Linked DNA regions of Homo sapiens: region 1 is linked to region 2. Evidence: promoter capture Hi-C in human tissues and cell types (Jung and others, 2019). All regions are on one chromosome and are shown on one strand. Each heading gives the region's core, a stretch centred on a gene start or on the middle of the fragment in contact. The rest is flanking DNA. Distances are from core to core; before and after follow the strand shown.

What was found. The method cuts DNA at HindIII sites, captures the fragments that hold promoters and counts their contacts. A contact is called where the count stands out against the background at its distance.
Region 1: a contact is called between a fragment that was not itself captured here and the fragment with the promoter of OAZ1 in region 2, in 1 of the 25 tissues and cell types used here (adrenal gland).

What each region holds. Positions count from the first base shown.
Region 1 is chr19:2,204,746-2,208,226 of GRCh38, reverse strand. It overlaps DOT1L (DOT1 like histone lysine methyltransferase), which reads right to left. Exons shown (of 28, transcript NM_032482.3): 10 at 1,430-1,498; 11 at 547-653. Among named protein-coding and RNA genes, the nearest start is that of DOT1L-AS1, 9.1 kb to the left of the region's middle. The HindIII fragment of the contact is 7,781 bases long and covers 1-3,481 here.
Region 2 is chr19:2,267,056-2,270,758 of GRCh38, reverse strand. OAZ1 (ornithine decarboxylase antizyme 1) reads right to left here and starts at 1,273. Exons shown (of 5, transcript NM_004152.3): 1 at 1,015-1,273. The coding sequence starts at 1,160. It overlaps LOC105372240 (a long non-coding RNA gene), which reads left to right and starts at 1,506. Exons shown (of 2, transcript XR_936242.3): 1 at 1,506-1,657; 2 at 1,887-2,266. RefSeq lists silencers at 192-251, 1,217-1,706 and an enhancer at 960-1,574. The HindIII fragment of the contact is 6,913 bases long and covers 21-3,703 here.

The DNA.
Region 1 (3,481 bases), core at 547-3,046, 63 kb after region 2:
CACATGCCAGGAGGCTCGGGATACTCGTGCCCGGGGGGGAAGCACCGTGGGAGGCAGGCAGGCCGCACACTGGCCCAGGGCTGTGTCAGAGGACCCTGGGGAACACAGGGAGGGAAGAAGCATCCCAGACCCCACCCATGGACCCTGGTGTCTCCCCGCTCAGGACCCTCTCACATGGAGGAAGCTGGGAACAGGGACGTGGGACTCCTATCCACAGGGGCCTCTGGATATGGCGGCCGGGACCCTTATGGTCACACATCACTCTGATGGCCCCGCCCCACCCCAGGAGCTGAGCGTAGACTAGGGGAGACAGCACTCAGCCCTCACCCAGGACACGCCCAGTGCCTGGGAGGACCCTGGTGGGTCCTGCGGTGCAAGCAGTACTGAGGGGCCTTGAGGAGCTGGGCCTGAGCTCAGGGGCCGGGGGGCGTTGAGGGCTCTGAGGGGAGGGTCTCAGAGGCCACATGAGAAAGGAGAGAGCAGTGTGACGTGGGCGGGGTGGAAGACCAGGACGGCCCTGCGGCTGAGGCGCAGCGAGATACTCACTATGGTGCGGTCGATAGTGTGCAGGTAGTAGGAGACTGGCTTCCCCGTCCACGACACCGAGCCCTTCAGGGGCGAGAGCTCCACCACGCGCATGATGGTGCCGATGTCTGCAGGAGCCACAGGTGAGGCCGGGGCCTGCGCCTGCCCACAGCCCCTCCATGCAGACCTCACCCACCCCAGGGCAGGCGTGGGGACAGAAGCCTGAGCTGCGCGTCTTCCCTCTTCTCCCACACTGCGTCAGGCCACAGTGGCCCACAGAGGCCGGCCCAGGGAGGTGCACCATTCAACACCACCTGGCCTGGGCCCCTCCAACCTCAGAAAAACAGCCACAAACCCAGCTGAGTGGAATGGAAAAGGAGGGGGAGAAGATCTGGAAGCGACTTAGATCACGGCTGCAAGAACGGCCAGCATCCAGCAACACAGGCACCTCCCGGGTGGGCGCTCCTCAGGGAAGCCCCTCAGAGGAGGCCGTGCTGCCCCGCAAGGCTGGGAGCTGACAGAGCACGCAGCACAGTAAGGCAGGCAGGGGGCATGGGAGGGGCCGGCTCCTTCCCACCGTGGGCCTGTCTCTGTCCACAAAAGTCCTGTAAATCCTTCACGCCTCCCCTCGAAGCCGGGGTCTCCCCGAGGAGTGATTCTACCCCCATGGCACACAGTGCTCTATGGGGACGTGTGTGGTTGTCGCGACCAGGGGTGCTCCTGGCATGGAGTGGGTGGACACCAGGGACGCTGCTCAGCACCCTGCACTGCCCAGGACAGCCCCACCCCACAGAAGGATCCAGCCCCAGTGTCCACAGGGTCAAGGAAGAGGGACCTAGGAATACTGCGTGTCAGATGGTTAAAATTACCCGTGTTCATCATTAACAACATGAGAGTTTCTTACCACTCAAGTTTCTACTGTTTATTCTGAAGTTCAGAGGTGCAAAGGGTTTCGAGGACACGATTCTGCCACCTGAAACACAGACACTGCTTACTGCCACACAGGAGAGAGGAAACAGAAGAGCAGACACCACTCAAGGTGACAGAGAAGGAACAATGACACGGAACACACACACACTGGGCTCCGGGTCCTGTCCACCTGCCTACAAGCAACACTAGGAAACACCTTCCAAGTTGAAGCCTATTCTACAAATAACTTTTTTTTTTTTTTTTTTTTTTTGAGACAGAGTCTCCCGGCTCACTGCAACCTCCACCTCCCTGGTTCAAGCGGTTCTCCTGCCTCAGCCTTGCGAGTAGCTGTGATTACAGGCGCACACCACCACACCTGGCTAATTTTTGGATTTTTAGTAGAGAGCGGGTTTCACCCTGCTGGCCAGGCTTGTCTGGAACTCCTGGCCTCAAGTGAGCCACCACGCCCAACCTCCTACAAATAATGCTTCTTTAAAAAACATTCTCGGCGCGGTGCAGTGGCTCATGCCTGTAATCCCAGCACTTTGGGAGGCTGAGGCAGGTGGATCACCCGAGGCCAGCCTGGCTAACAGGGTAAAACCGTGTCTCTACTAAAAAAATACAAAAACTAGCCAGGTGTGGTGGCGCACATCTGTAATCCCAGCTACTCGGGAGGCTGAGGCAGGAGAATCACTTGAACCTGGGAGGTGGAAGCTGCAAGTGAGTCGAGATCGCGCCACTGCACTCCAGCCTGGGCGATAGAGAGAGACTCTGCCTCAAAAGAAAAAAAAAACCCACTACGCTGCCAGGCGCACAGGCTCACGCCTGTAAACCCAGCATTATGGGAGGCCAAGGCGGGCAGACTGCCAGAAGTTCCAGCCCAGCCTGGGACACAGGGAGACCCCATCTCTACAAAAAATTAAAATAAAAAATTAGCTGGGCATGATGGTGCATGCCTGTGATCCCAGCTACTCGGGAGGCTGGGGCAGGAGGATCACTTGAGCCCAGGAGGTCAAGGCTGCAGGGAGCTATGATCACACCAGTGCACTCCAGCCTGGGCCAAGGATGAAGACCCTGTCTCAAAAAAAAACAAAACAAAAAACTAAGGTTTGAGAGGCAGGAAGAGCAAACCCCCAAGCCGTACACAAGCAGGAACAAAATCTAACTGTAGATGCAAACTGGAAACAGTCATGCGAAAAGAATTATTTCAAATACCTCTGAACCCTGGGATTCTAACTGACTGTCAGTGATAAATGCAAAGACAAACAGACCGGATGGACACCTTCAGCCTCAGTCTGACCAACACAGTGAAACCCCGTCTCTACTAAAAATACAAAAAAGTCAGCCAGGCACCTGCAAGGCTGCTGCTAAGCGTCAGTCTCACTATCACCAGCCACTATGGGGCATCTTGTGTGTGCTGCAGGAAGAACTTGGTGTCAGGAGCCGAACTTCGCAGGACCGAGAGAAACAGAGCCTTCTGTTTTTACACATATAAAGAAGGTAATCATAAAAGTCAAAATGTGGGCCAGGTGCGGTGGCTCATGCCTGTAACCCAGCACTTTGGGAGGCCGAGGCAGGGAGATCACGAGGTCAGGAGATCGAGACCATCCTGGCTAACACAGTGAAACCCTGTCTCTACTAAAAATACAAAAAAATTAGCCAGGTGTGGTGGCGGGCGCCTGTAGTCCCAGCTACTCGGGAGGCTGAGGCGGGAGAATGGCGTGAACCTGGGAGGCGGAGCTTGCAGTGACCAGAAACTGCGCCACTGCACTCCAGCCTGGGCGACAGAGTGAGACTCCGTCTCCAAAAAAAAAAAAATTAAAAGTCAAAGTGGATCCATTTAAACACATGCACACTCCGCCATCCCAGCTCTCCTCCCCTGGACGCCACACCAGCCCAGGCCTGGCATTCTACACACCACTCCCCTCAGGAGGAGCAGGAAGGGCGGTTCCAGGGCCAGGCTGGGCACACAGGTTAGGCCAGTATCCCTACCAGAGGACCTCAAACATGAGCAGGGCCACGTCTAATGGTTGCAGAGCCAGGCTAA
Region 2 (3,703 bases), core at 24-2,523:
CCTCCATTTTGCACGGCCCCCAAACCGCGGCACCGCCAGCACCGCGGCCCAACCTCCCGATCCGGGGCTGAGCGACGCCCACCTCGGGGGACGCAGTCGGGAAAGCTCGACCGAGACCCCGCGGGCTCCCCCACAACCGCAGCTGGCACCCGCGCCCCCGGAAGCGGGACGCGTCTTCCCGGGAAGCGGCGGGGGTCTTCCCAGGGCGCTGCCGGGCTGTCGGAGTGCGCCACCCCCAGCTCCCCGGCGGCCCCCGCGGAGAAGCCCTGGGTGCCGTCTACGTGCGCGGCCTCGCCCGGCGCGTCCCGGGCCATCCAGACCGACTCGCTCAGGGGCGAAAAACGGGGCCCACGAGGTCCGTCGCGTGCAGGGGCCACATCGAGGCAACAGGGACCCGCGGGAGCTCGTCCACCGCAAAGCGCTCCCCGCTCCCGCAGCGCACGCTCGACGGCCGGGACCGAAAAGTGCAGATTCACCAGCCCCGCGGGCCCTGCCTGTCCGCGGACCAGCCCCCCAAGGCCGACCCCGCCCCCAACCAGATTGCCCCATCCTGCGCCTCCCAAATCCGACCCGACCGCACACCCTTCCTCCAAACCGAATTCCCAGTCTGCGCCCCGCAAATCCAACCCTCGACCAGAAGCCTCTCCCCTCCTCCGAAGCCGAGTCCCATCCCGCGAACCCCGCAAAAGACACACGCCTCCCCCGACTCCCCGTCCTGCGCCCAAATCCGACCTCCGACCCATGCCCCTCCCGCAAATCAGGCGCCCCGGACGGTGCCCCCCAAATCCAACTCCGCACCCTTGCCCCCCAAACCCGACTCCCCCGAGAGCACTGCTAAGGCCGGGGGGGACCTCCAGGCCCGCCCTGCGCCTACCTCGTCCCCGGCGCGATTCTGGCCTTGACAAAGGGGCGGATCTCGCGCGCCGGGGACCTATCTGGCGCCCCGAGGACGGCCCCCCGCAGGCCTGCGCGGCCGGCGCTTCTGGAAGCTTCGGACGGGGGCGGGGCACTTACCTCTCACTGCTGCTGCCGCCGCGGCTGTGCAGGCTTAGGAGCGGCATGGTGCGGCTGGCGTGGATGGTGGCGCTGGGTTTATCCCCTTCCTTCTCTCTGGCGAAGCAGTGGCTATTGAGGATCCGCTGCAGGGAGGATTTCACCATCCGGCCGCTGGGGTCCGAAACCAGGAAAACCTCCGCTGCGTCTCTCCGCGCCGCCGCCGCTGCTCGCCGTTCGCAAAATGGCGCCTCTGCCGCCGCCCGCCTTTATAGATGCTGCGCCCAGGCCACGCCCCCCGCGCCGCCGGGAACGCGACCGCACGAGGGGCAGAGCCGCGGGGCCGCCGGGAAAAAAAGTCGCGCCCGCCCCTCCCAGCGCCTGATTGGTGAAAGGGAAAGGGAAAGGAAGAGGCTCTCTGGAGATTGGTTGGTGAGCCTCGGGCCACGCCCCCTCCTGCGCGCGTCCTTCTGGGGGCGGGGCTGCCGTGGCGCCGGGTACGCGCTGCGCGCGCCCCGAGCCGTCCCCGCCCCCACAATCGTGCCTTGGGGGCGGGGGCGGCTCGCTGGGGCCGATTTTCGGGGGTCTTCGAGTGCCCGTTTGTCTGTCGTGGTCCACGTCGCCCTCCCTAGGGTCCCTTCACGCAGCGGGACCCCTCCCCTGGGTAGGCCCCCGGGTGCTTGGGGGGTTGTCCAACCGCGCCAGAATTATTTCCAGTAACACCTGGTAATCATCGATGATATTACTGGTTTTATTTTTTTAAATTTGGTCTTGCAGTTCTTAAAATGCTTCCAGTGTTTAAAAAAAAAGAACTTCCAATGTTAAAGATATTCAAATTTAGTAAAATATTTCGTGTACAATTTGGACTTAAGCAAAAATTTTACTCCTTGCAGATAAATTCAGATTTTTCCTGTGGAAACTGAAACTTACCCTAAGGAAAAACACTACTCCTGGCAGTTAAAATTCAGAAACACATCTCATGTATGAACTAAAATGTGGATCTCCCAAGGAAAAAACGATTTCTTTGGTGGTCAAGTTCGGTAAACTGTTTCGCCTGTGAGGTAAAATGTGGACTTACCTAGCAAAAATATTTCCCCTCCTGGTTAAATCCAGAAAAAAAATCTCAGGTATGAACTGCACTTTGCTTTTAATAAGCAAAGATATAACTCTTGGCAGTCACATACGGGTACATAGCTTGTGTGTAGACTAAATTATGAATTTAGCAAAAAGTTGCCACTTTGCAGTGAGGTTTAATAAAATATTTTTTATTTCATGTATAAACAAAATTTTGTTCTTACCAAGCAAAAATGCTACTCCTGGCAAATCCTGATTCCTTTCATGGTTTTAATTTTGTTTTGTTTGCGACCGGGCCTGGCTGTCACCCAGGCTGGAGTGCAGTGGCGCAATCTCGGCTCGCTGCAACCTCCGCCTCCCAGGTTCAAGCGATTCTCCTGCTTCAGCCTCCTGAGGAGCTGGGATTACAGGTGCCCGCCACCACGCCCGGCTAATTTTTGTATTTTTAGTAGAGATGGGGTTTCACCATGTTGGCAAGGCTGGTCTGGAACTCCTGACCTCAGGTGATCCGCCTGCCTCGACCTCCCAAAGTTTGGGGATTAACAGGCGTGAGCCACCGCGCCTGCCTGTCTTTCGAGATTTCGTACTGCACCAGAAGGCTGTTGTTGCATCTCTGCTACGAGCATTCGCTATTCAGGTGTTGAGGCAGAAATTAACTCCTGCGGTTGACATTTGGGGCCGCCCTGGGCACTGCAGGGCGCTGAGCAGCGTCCCTGGCCTCCACCCACTCCATGCCTTGAGCACCCCCAGTTGTGACAACCACAAGTATCCGCAGACATCACCCAGTGTCCCTTGGCGGGGGCAGAATCACCCTGGGTGAGACTCCCGAGTTAGGGGATTCCACGGACCCCCCCAAGAGACTCTGCATCCCATGATCCTCTGCCCTGCTGAGGTCCCAGGAGACTGCGCACGTTGAAATCCACACCTTGAGGCAGAGGTTGCAGTGAGCTGAGATGGCGCCGCTGCACTCCAGCCTGGTGACAGAGCGAGACTCTGTCACAAAAAAAACAAAAAAAAAGCAATCCACACCCTGAGTGGGGAAGGAGAGAGGAGAAGCATCCCAGGAGCTGGGGGCCTCCTGGTTTATACCGTTTGCCCCATTAGGAGTTTATCCTGAGGCTGGGCACGGTGGCTCACGCCTGTAATCCCAGCACTTTGGGAGGCCGAGGCGGGTGGATCACGAGGTCAGGAGTGCAAGACCAGTCTGGCCAACATGGTGAAACCCCGTCTCTACTAAAAATACAAAAATTAGCTGGGCATGGTGGCGCGTGCCTGTAATCCCAGCTACTCAGGGGGCTGAGGCAGGAGAATTGCTTGAACTGGCACCCGGGAGGTGGAGGTTGCAGTGAGCCAAGATTGCACCACTACACTCCAGCCTGGGCTACAGAGCGAGACTCCATCTCAAAAAAAAGGAGTTTATTCTGGTGTCTGGTGTGAGCAGAGAACAGACTCTGTTTCAAATAATTAACTCAGGGTCTCCTCCCTCGGACCCGTGGACATTGGGCTTGGATTGTTCTCTGGGGTGGGGCATCCTGGGCAAATGGTATGAACCAGGAGGGCCCCAGCTCCTGGGATGCTTCTCCTCTCTCCTTCCCCACTCAGGGTGTGGATTGCTTTTTTTTTTGTTTTTTTGTTT